Linked DNA regions of Homo sapiens: region 1 is linked to region 2. Evidence: promoter capture Hi-C in human tissues and cell types (Jung and others, 2019). All regions are on one chromosome and are shown on one strand. Each heading gives the region's core, a stretch centred on a gene start or on the middle of the fragment in contact. The rest is flanking DNA. Distances are from core to core; before and after follow the strand shown.

Region 1 (5,705 bases), core at 2,163-4,662, 140 kb before region 2:
GCAGCAGTGGGATGAGAATGACTGTTTTTAGGCCCCAGAGCAGCATACCCTGGCTCCAGTCAGTAGGTTCTAGGGGCTGATTCTTGGGCCTCCAGATGTCTGGCTTAGAAGCTTGCAGTGGGAACGATGATCCCTGTGTGTGGGCAGGTTCTCAGACCTCTGGGCAGCTGGTGTGGCATGGGAGATAGCAGTAGCAGTGGTAGAACAGCTCACTGGGACCCAAGCCCTCCATGTTGGTGTTACAAGAAGATGCGATCAGTTGGCAGGCTTGTCCCCAGTCCCACAGTCACTTGTAGTACTGCAGTGGTCACTGTCCTAAGTGTGGTGTACCCTGGAGAGCTTGGACTACCCTGTTTGGTAAGAGAGCTTAGTCTACCCTGTTCCTCTCCCAGCAGGGTGTGGAACTCATCACCTCAAACTCACCTGGAGGGCGGGGCACAGCCAAGTGTTAAACTCTCAAAATGGTGCCAGCTGTGGGCTTGTGACCAGACAAAACAGAGATCCCTCCCAGAAAAGCATCATCCCATAGCAGGGTGTTGAGTATTATCTTGAGTATGTATAAGGGAGTCTGGACTCCCTGTCCCTCCTAAACCGGGCCACAGCTGCAGCCATGTCAACTCAAACTGAGGCCAAGGGCAGGGCACAGCCTGAACTTAAACTATGGAAACTGCACCTTGGGCCTGCAACCAGAGAGGCTGAGGTCCCTCGCAGGCAAGCAGCATGGGCAAGAAGCTATGGGGAATGCAGTCTGCTCACGTGTAAGTCTCAACTTCAGCCTTCAGCAGGGAGGCAGTAACTCTCCCAGGGGTGCATGGGAGTGCCTGGTCTCCCCTCTGCCTCCTTGCAGCAGTAAAGTGGCAGCAGCTGTCTGTAGATACCTGATGTCTGGGCTCTCAAAATGGTGCCCATCTGAGGCTGCCCAGGGTTCAGATGCCTGTGGGAGTGTGTGGGGGTTCCCTTTCTGGAGCAACATCTTTGGGCAGCTTCATATGTCAGGCCGGAGGCCCTAATGAGTCCGGGGTTTCTCCCACAGCCAAGATTATAAAAGCCTGTCTAGGAGTGTGGAGCCCAGGGGCTTTCTCTCTTACTGCTTCCCCACACATTCCAGGAGCCTCTCCCAGCTCAGTCAATCCCAGGTGGGCAAGCTGCCTCAAACCCTTTTCTTACTTCTGGTGCTTCCCATCTCTTCTCTGGTGAACCTCAGCATTCTCTCCTAGACCATTTGTTTGAAATGTGAGTATCTACTTGCTATTCTGGTTTTCTCTGTGGGGGAGACAAACATACCTGCATCTATTCAGCCGTTATGATTCATCTCCAAAGTCTATTCCAATTTATAGAAGTTTGAAAGGCTGCCTCTAGACTATCGGTGGTTTAATGTTAAAGACATTTATGAACACTAAACTTCTCTTTAAAATTTTTTATTGTTTTAATTGCCTCCTGTTTACCTTGTTTATAAGAAAAGGATGCCCACCCTAGGGCTGTGGGGATGGCAAAACACAGGACGTTAATTCTGGGTGGATAAAATCAACAGTAGATTATTAGCCCCACGTATGCTCACAGCCTGAGGGAGGACACTGCATGCTAAGTATGGCCACAAAGGTTGCATTTAGGAGCACCTAACAAGCAGGGGCTAAGGAAGGCAGGCTCTGTAGTGTCAAGAGAGTGAGGTGGTCCCTGGTTCCTGCAGGAAGAAGTGCTATCTCCATTCTGGGGCCTGTAGTCCCAAGCAAGATTCATTTTAAAAATGAACAGATGGTAGTCCGGGCGCGGTGGCTCACACCTGTAATCCCACCACTTTGGGAGGCTAAGGTGGGTGGATCACGAGGTCAAGAGATCGAGGCCATCCTGGCCAACATGGTGAAACCCCGTCTCTACTAAAAATACAAAAAAATTAGCCAGGCTTGATGGCACATGCATGTAGTCCCAGCTACTTGAGAGGCTGACGTGGGAGGATCCCTTGGGCCCAGGAGTTTGAGGCTGCAGTGAGCTATGATTATACCACTGCACTTTAGCCTGGGTGACAGCACAAATTCTGTCTCTAAAAAAATCAAGCAAGCAAGCAAACAAACAAACAAAAAACAACAAAAAAGAAGGGACTGGAAACCACCAATTCAATCAGAAAAAAAAATTGACTTTTAAGAGAATTCTTCTTGGCCTGGTGCAATGACTCACACCTGTAATCCTAGCACTTTGAGAGGCAGAAGTAAAATGATCACTTGAGGCCAGGAGTTCAAGACCAGCCTGGGCAACATAGTGACACCTCATACCTACAAAATATCTACAAAATATAAAAATTTAAAAAGAGAGAAATCTTCCTAACTGCAGCCTCAATTAACCTTTATTCTCTAGGTATACTGAAAAACTTACTGAATAGGCTTAGCTCAATTAAAGCTTAAAATTATTTTAAAAATAAATAATAAAGTACCTTACATAATGAGAAAAAAATAGTCAAAATAAAGCTCAAGATTTTAAGGCTTCATTTTAGAATCAAATCCTTGCCTACTTTTACTCCAATCAATTAAGTTTATGCCAAACCAGTATATAAAATTTTTACTAGTTATTATAATTGCCTAATTTAATATAAGATAAACAAGTTAATTAATTTAACTTGTGTAAGTTGTACAATATAAATAATTTAATATAAGTTAAATTCGAGTGTGAAAAGATTTACTGGCTCTATTAAAACTAAAAATAATAAGCAAGGTAATGGGTATGTTAATTAGCTTGATTTAATCTTTCCACAAAGGTACCACTGTAGGTTGGTATGACTTTCCCAGAACTCCGTTACATGAATTAGAACATCACATTGTATCAAATAAATGCACACAATTATAACTTGTCCATTAAAAAAATACTAATTGGCCCGCTTCAGTAGCAAGCACATGTAATCCCCACAACCCAGGAGGCTGAGGTAGGAGGATTCCTTGGGGCCAGAATTTCGAGACTAGCCTGTGCAACAGAGTGAAACCTCATCTGTAAAAATTTAAAAATTGTTCTAATTAGAATAATACTAATCAAAAATTGCTTTAACTAAAGCAAATGCTTTGGAAAGATTCAATATATCTGAATCAGCAAAGAGACATTGTTCTTATTTGCTAGAGGCAAAGCAATGTATTTTTTTAATTACTAAAATCTAGGATTTCCCAGTCAGACTATTAGGTAAATGTCCTTAAACTCACAGCATTTTTACAGAAAACCACAAGTAGATATTGCCAGCAATGCATTATCAACGGTGTTGCTGCCAGAAAGACAACGAGAGCTCTTTTCTGTAAGCTCACACTCACAGAGAAAATTATTTGGTATGTCTTAAAAGACTGGGAAATGAGGAGATATACCTAATGTAAATTACGAGTTAATGGGTGCAGCACACCAACATGGCACATGTATACATATGTAACAAACCTGCATGTTGTGCACATGTACCCTAGAACTTAAAGTATAATAATAAAAAAAAAGATTGGGAAATGAACAATCCAAAAATAGAATTAACAGTCCCACTTATAACATCAACAAAAGGAAAAATGGACCCATCATCAGTCACCAAGACCTGAGAACAGAGAGTGGCAGCCCCTTCACACAGGCGGCAGAGCAAGGAAGCTGTCAGCCGGCGAGCCTCCTGGAGTATACCTGAGATGGGCAGAACTGGGGACATCAGTTCTCTACAGCAGCCCTGCAATGAGGGGCTGGAGTGGTATAGAAAAAATTCCAACGCTTTTTGCTGGTAAGTGGCTCTACTCATTCATTTATCCCTGTCGCTGGTTCCCTTCTTGAAGCTTGAAAATAATCTGAACTTTCCATGTCAAGAGCAGCTGGCCTCCTCCCATACATTAATTTTCTGTATTGGCTAGGTATTGGCTGCAAACACAAGATTAAATTACACAGAGAGTCGGGTAGTGAAACTGCTCCCACTCAGGCTGAGTCACCAGATTCACCCTGAGGTGAATCTGAATCAGGCTGAGGTTTCTGGGGTTGGCTGTTAGCTTGGGTCTGCATAGCTACCTCTCAGAGAACACACTGGCCACAGCTCCCAAGCTGTAGCTGTTTCTGCCTCCCCTGACCCAGAACTGCTACTTCCCTCAACATTTCCAGTGATTCGCTGCATTTCATTTTGTCTTGTGTTTTCTACTGACGCCGCCTTATTTTTGTTTTATGTGCCTTACCTGATATTTTGGGGGTTATTCACATTTTTAAAATGTATTTTCATTTTCCCTGTAAGAGAGAGCCTGTGTTTCTGGCTTGCAAACCAGGCTGGAGATGGCACCTTCCCCAGAGCTCAGGAATTCTGGGTGAGGATTGAGTGTGGGGAATGTCATGAGATTTAGCCTGCTCCTGTAGGCAAAAGGACCTTTTGAAACACACAAGTGGGGATAGTTAGGTATTTCATACACATAACATAGTTGTGATACGAAAACCAGAGAAAGATAATCACCAAATATTCTAGGACACTGGTCCTCAATATTAGCATGCACAAGAGTCACTAGGGCTATGGATGAACATAGGTGTGATACAAATGCCAGAGAAAGATAATCACCAAATATTCTAGGACACTGGTCCTCAATATTAGTATGCATGAGAGCCACTAGGGCTATGGATGAAAATGCAAATTTCTGGGCCTTACTCCCAGAGATTCTGATTCTGTAAACCTGTGGGGAGTCCAGGAAACTGCATTTTCAAAAAGCACCTGTATTAGTCAATTTTCACACTGCTATGAAGAGCTGCCTGAGACTGGGTAATTTATAAAGAAAAGTGGTTTAATTGGCTCACAGTTCCGCTTGGCTGGGAAGGTCTCTGGAAATTTAAAATCATGGCAGAAGGCAAAGGGGAACCAAGGCGTATCTTACATGGTGGCAGGAGAGAGAGAAGGAGAAAGTGCCACACTTTTTAACCATCAGATCTCAGGAGAACTCACTCACTATCACGAGAAAAGAATGAGGGAAACTGCCCCCATGATCCAATCACCTCCCACCATGTCCCTCCCTAACATGTGGGGTAATTCAAGGTAAGATTTGGGTGGGGACACAGAGCCAAACCATATCAGCACCCATGACTTTAATAAATGGAGTTCGCCAATAACTTCTGTGAAAACAAAGACTAACCAAATAAGAAAGTAAAGGCTATCTATTCTACAACAAAGAAGTCAGCCACCATCACTTCCATTTTGGGAGAGACTCAAAGACCAGCAGAGGAGTAGGAAAGCTTTATAGTGGAAAAGGTATCACCCTTTTTTTCGCATGTTCCCTGATTGGAGGCTGTTGGCATGGGGAAGCTGAGGATAGCTAACTAGATGCACAGCATCCTATGGGATTGGTTTAGGGTACGTATTTGGCTTTCCTACGTTGCTCCTAAGTTAGAAACAGGAACAAAAATTTGGGAAGTTGTCAGTTATTAATAAAGTCCTGGCCATTTGGAGCTGACTGTTACTGGAGTTACTGTTTAGTTTCCTGGATTGTTACCAGAGAAAGTCTGACTTCCTACAAGTGTGACTTACAGCAAGTGGCTTCCTGGGCTGTTTATTGTAGAAAAGTGGGTTGATTTCCTAGGCAGGCTGCTGTAGGTTATGGGTCAGAGTTCTGTTTTTATATGTGGTCTGGCCATTGTCTGTATATTTTGTCTCTCATCTCTAAGAAATACAGCCATAAACCAAGCTCTTTTTGTAACACAGAGCAGAACTTCAATACAGGGGACTGCTTTCTTCATTATTGCTG
Region 2 (5,576 bases), core at 1,769-4,268:
TCTCTACTAAAAATACCAAAAAATTAAAAAATAAAAAATAAAATAAAAATAAAGGGGGTATTAACAGCAGCAGCAACATTTTCCAAATTAAAGAATGAGAGACTCAGAAAGGGTAAGGGCATGCCCAAGTCACACAGCATGTAAATGGCAGGGCCAGAACTCAAACCCAGGCTTCTGTAAGCTGACCTTCACTCCAACGAGCCCCTCCATATAGCTCTGCCAGGTTGGAAGGAAAAGGCAGGTTCGGGGATCCCCTGCCCCAGCTTGGTGGGGGTCTCTGATGTCCCTGACTCTGGCCCCTGCCCAGACTAGGGTGACTGCTCCCCTGAAAGCTCTGGGGTGGGGGCACAAGGGTGGCATGGATGATGGCAAAGGGTGCAGCAGCCCCCTCCGCCAGCCTCTGATTGGGGCCCTGCAGTCCCCCAGGATTTGGTGCTTGGAAAGCTGACGTTGGGTTGCTATGGTGATGGGTTTGGGGCGGTTGCCATGGCAGCAGAACTAGCCCGGGTTTAAAAATATCTAGCAGGAGGTTTGTGTTTGTGTGTGAGTGTGAGTGCGTGACCGACCGTGCTGTTGTGTGTGTCCAAACGGGAGGGCTCGATGGGGGGAGCGCAGGGTTGGGGCTGCAGGCATGCCTCGGGGGTGGGGGCTGAGCGGCACACAGCTTTCCATGTGTGTTGTGCGTGTCACTGAGTGGCCCGTGAAGTCCAGTTATTGTGTGCGTTAGCCTATGTGGGCCGTGTATCTAAATGTGTGTGTTGTGTGTGTTTACCCAATTTGTGTGCAAGGAAAGACTTAGTCTGTTCGTCAGTCTATACATCACATGTCGCTGATATGTCTTATGTAACATAGGCCATGGATGTCCTGTGGCTTTGATCATGGATTTGTAACTTTTCCGAGTGTGTGGGGCCAAGTGTGGAGCTGTCGTGGCTCTGAATGTGTGTACCTGGGACATACCTGCATATTAGATGTGTGTCTGTCTATTTGTGTATGAGAGCCTGTGTTGTGGCCTTGCGTCTGCATGACTGAATGTGCATTACAGATGAGTGTGTATGTGTGTGTACGTGTGCCTATCCCCTATAAGTGTGTCTGTGTGACTGTGTTGAGACCGTGCACCTGCAGCAGGGCCAGTGTGACTCTGTGTGTGTCACACAGAGGGGGAAACTTCACAGCTAATTTCATGGATGTTGGGATATGTACCTGTGTGGTGTGAGGCTATTTGACTCAAAGGGTCTAAGGTGTGGTACTCAGCCTGACCCCCGTATCTCCCTATATCCGTCTTGCCTCTTCCCCATCTCCATGGCAACCAGCTCCTCAGCTCCCTCCAGGAAGATGGAGGGGGAGGATCCAGACTGCAGTGGACCACAGCCCCCTCCCATCCCCCTTGGCTCTGGGGACAATGGGGGGGAGGGGACAGATGGGTAGCCACCCCATCCACCCCAGGCCATCTGCTACCCTCCCCCATCCTGGGGACCTGAGAGCATGGCAAGGGAGGAGCAGGGGGGGGTTGGAGCCGATCCCCCTGCCGCAGATCACGCAGTGGCCACAATTACCTGCATCCAGACCCCTTCTGAGCCTAATCTTGCCTCTGACCAACCCAGGAAGGAAAGATTCCTTGGAGGTTAAGAACCCAGGGAGAAGGAAATTCTTGCATCAAGGAACACAGAATAATAGCAATGATCCATTCCAAAGAAAGGCACCCTAGTTCCAATGACTTTGGGCTCTGAAATTGGACTTGTCCTGCGTTCTCATCCCAGTTTCTCTCTCTCAAGCTGTGTGCCCTTGAAGAAGCCACCCTCAATGTTCCCAGGCCTCCACTTTGTCATCTGAAAACAAATTTTTCTTAATGACATGAGTAGTAATACTGTACAAGGGCCAAGGCTGTTTTGTTCTCTATTGTATCGCAGCATCAGGGACAGTGCCTGGCACTTAGTAGGTAGGCCCTGAGTGCTGTTGTTTGAATGGAGAGCCAGTTGTGCCCCAGGGCAGGTGCTGCAGGCTGCAACTCCAGCTCAGTGAATTCAATCCTCTGAGCCCTTTCAGCATCACGGTGTTGATTCTTCAAAGGATGGATGAAAGATTTGAAGGGGAATTTCCCAGCTGAAAGGATTGAAAAAGAGTGAAGTGAAATTTCTTTCTCTTTCTTTCTTTCTTTTTTTTTTTTTTTTTTGAGACAAGGTTTTGCTCTGTCTCCCAGGCTCGAATCTAGTTGCTTGATCATGGCTGACTGCAGCCTCAAACTCCTGTGCTCAAGAGATCCTCCCACCTCAGACTCCAGAGTACCTGGGGCTACAAGCATGTGCTACCACGCCTGGCTAATTAAAAAAAAAATTTTTTTTTTGTAGAGATGGGGTCTCACAATATTGTTGCCCAGCTCGTCTCAAACTCCTGGGCTCAAGTGATTCTTCCGCCTCGGCCTCCCAAAGTGCTGGGATGACAGGCATGAACCACCGCGCCTAGTCGAAATTTCTTGTCTTGACCAAGTGAAGTCAAAGTAAGCTCCTAAGGCTGTTTCCTCATCTGTAAAATAGGGATAATAAGCGTAACTCACAGAGCTGGTCGCTCTGGGGAGTAAATGCGATAACGTCTGTGACGTGCTTGCTTGGAACCGGACCTGGCACACAGTAAGTGCTCAATAAACGTTCATTCAAGGTGAGGAGTGGGGACGGCTTGGAGGAGCCCGGGGTCCTCCCAGCAGCCTGGGGGAGTCGGGTCCAGCTCTCTGCCGCCGGGAGGGGCGTGGCCAACCCAGAGGGACGTGGTCCAGGCTTCAAGGCTGGACCAATGGGGGCGCCGAAGGGCGTGGCCCTACCCGGCATGGGCGTGACCTCGTTGGGTGGGAGGGGCCAGGCGCTGTGGGAGCCTCCGGGAAGAAGATGCTCGGGCCAGCAGCCACCGCCAGCCCCGTCGCCGCCGCCGCCCGCGCCCGCCGCCCCCCGGGCCCCCACTAGCGGCCGCCTCCGCCTCCCACTCCGGCCACGCTCCTCCGGCCCCCCACCCCGAGCAGGGTCTGGGGGGCTCGGCCCTCTTGCCCCAGGGAGCCAAGAAGAAGCGGGGAGTCCCGTCCCCCCAGTGGCGCGTCCAGTCCCCAGCCTCTGTGGTCCCAGGAGAGACCCCACCTCTCAGTTCTTTCCCGGCCCTATCGGAGACCCCCCTCGGCCCTGCCATCCTGCTCACGGCCGCTCTCCAGGCTCTGTCAGCCCCCCGAGAACCGGCTCCCCCCTACCCCCGCCTTCCCTCTCCGGGGCTCCCCCTCCCCCATCCCTCCACCGCCCCCTCCCCCTCCCACCTCCCCTCCCCTCCCCCTCCCCCGCCCCCCGCCCCCCGCCCCCCCCCACCATGAGGATGATGGCCGCCGGCGCGGTGCACGGCCTCTTCACGGCCTCCGCGGCCCCGCAGCCGCCGCCGCCCCCGCCGCCGCCGCCGCCGCAACCCCAGCCTCCCCAGCAGCCGTCGCCGCCGCCACAGCAGCCGCCGCCGCCGCCGCCGCAGCCGCCGCAGCAGCAGCAGCCGCCGCCCCAGGCCCCCCCCATGGAGCCCGAGGCCCCGGATTCCCGCAAGAGGCCCCTCGAAACGCCCCCCGAGGTGGTCTGCACCAAGCGCAGCAACACGGGAGGTGAGAAAGGGCTGCGGCTCGGGGCGGGGGAGCGGGCAGGGGGCCTCGCCTTTCTCCATCCTTTCCCCCCCTCCCGTGGCAGGTGCAAGGGCTCTGGGGAGGGGAGAGACACCCCTCCCCGAGGCGGGGGACAGAGCGGGGAGTTGAGGAGGGGGCTGGACCCCCTCCTCCTCTCGCTGAGGCCCGGGGCTGGGAGCTTTGTCTGCGAGGAGAGGGGTGGGGGGGAGGGGGTGATAAGTGTCCTTGGGGGGCGCAGAAGATGGGGGGCGTGGGAGCCTCAGGGCAGGTGTCTGTGTGTCCTTGAGGGGTGTGTGATGTGACCCTTTCGGAGCAGGGGTGTTCCCCGAGCTCGCGTGTCCTGGCTGGGGGAGGGGAAGGAGTAGAGGCCTGTGGACCGGGAGCTTCCCAGCCTCCCTCCCTGGGGATGTCCTGAACAAGGGTTGTCCCAGATGGAGGCTTGTGTGGCCCTGGCCGGATCGTGCGTGGGGACAGGCTGGGTAGGTGTGTGGGGTGAAATGGAGGAAATGGTGGGTGTGTAAAGCTAGGTGGGAGAATGTGAGGCTAGGACAGGTGTGTATGTGTGTGCGTGTGTGTGTATGTGTGCCCTCTACAGCCTGGATGTGTGACATTAGGGATCAGGAATATGACAGCATAGGGGGGTGTATGAGAAAGACAGGGGACAGGGGCTGGGCTCCATGTTTGAGACCCTCCAGCGGGTACGTGTGACAAGGAAAGGTGTGTGCTTGTCACCCCCAAGGGGGCTGTGGCAGAGTGTGACACATGAGAGGGTGTGTGTGACATGCAAGGAGGTGTGTGGGGGACACCGAATGGGCTGGCTCTGGGTGTCAGCCAGAAGAGGCCGTGTAGATCAGAGGAAAGGGGTCCAGTGTGTGTGACACAGGCGTGGCTGGTGAGGGGATGTGACAAGAAAAGGGTGTGGGTGTGACTCCAGAGAGGCTGTGGCTGGGTGTGACACATGGAGGTGTGCAACAGTGACATCAGAGGGGGTGTGTGCAACAGGGAAGGTGGGTGTATGACGAGGGAGAGGCTGGGGCTTGTGGGTGAAACGCACGAGGGTGTGTAAAAAGGAGAAGGAAGGATGGGTCCCCATGTGACAGGGCACGTGTGCATATGACACCCAGCTGTGTGTATGGGTGTAACAAGGAGAGGTGTGTGTGTGAAATGGCTGAGTGTGTGACACCAGAGATATGGGGATGATTCTGCATGTGTTTGACAAGGGAGGCTGTGTGTGTGTCCGTGTGTATTGGAGATTGCCGAATGTTTGACACCACGGAAGGCAGTGTGAGGGAAGAGAGGGGCTCTCCCTGGGTGTGTGACCCAAGGAGGTGTGTGTACCAGAGAAGAAAAGCCGAGCTGGGAACTCTAGGTGCATGCCCTGCCGTGGGGGGCTCAGGGAAGAGGTGGGGTTTTTTGGGGTCCTCAGAGCCCTGTCCTCTAGCTCCCTGGTAGGAGGGAGACCCCGCAGCGGACAAGCCCCTCCCCGCGGTCACCTTGCCAAAATCTCCACTTCCTCTGGCCTTTTCCTCCGGATGGGAGAGGGATGGCTTCAGGCAGAGTGCACCCTTTCCTCTCCGCCAGGCCTGGCAGTGGGTGGGGTGGGGGCCTCCTACCTCCTCCCTACAGATGAATACAAGCCGACTTTCTTCCTCCCATCCTAGCCCTCCCCCACCTCCATCCAGGTGGGACAGGAATCAGGGACCCCCTGGATGCCTGTGAGGGTGTCCAGCAGAAATTGGAGGAAAGGGAAGTTGGGGGAGGGGATGGGAGGGAGTTTCCTGTCCTTCTTCCTGCTCCCCCACCCCCAGCACACACATGAATATGTCCCCGACTTCCTTCCCTCCTTCCTGCCCCACTGCTGTTCCCAGTCCTGGAGAGGTCAGGGACCCAGGAGGTCCCTGAGCCCAGCCAGACTGTCTAGCCCTCCACCACCGTCCTCCAG

Evidence for each region. Contacts are between HindIII fragments. The study calls those that stand out against the background at their distance.
Region 1: a contact is called between a fragment that was not itself captured here and the fragment with the promoter of NOVA2 in region 2, in 5 of the 25 tissues and cell types used here (IMR-90 fibroblasts, lymphoblastoid cells, mesenchymal stem cells and 2 more).

What each region holds. Positions count from the first base shown.
Region 1 is chr19:46,113,832-46,119,536 of GRCh38, reverse strand. It overlaps a transcript of IGFL2 not described here and the pseudogene LOC100533846. Among named protein-coding and RNA genes, the nearest start is that of IGFL3, 8.0 kb to the left of the region's middle. The HindIII fragment of the contact is 4,320 bases long and covers 1,253-5,572 here.
Region 2 is chr19:45,971,307-45,976,882 of GRCh38, reverse strand. It overlaps NOVA2 (NOVA alternative splicing regulator 2), which reads left to right and starts at 3,018. Exons shown (of 4, transcript NM_002516.4): 1 at 3,018-3,616. The coding sequence starts at 3,532. RefSeq lists a silencer at 2,693-2,852. The HindIII fragment of the contact is 35,305 bases long and covers 1-5,576 here.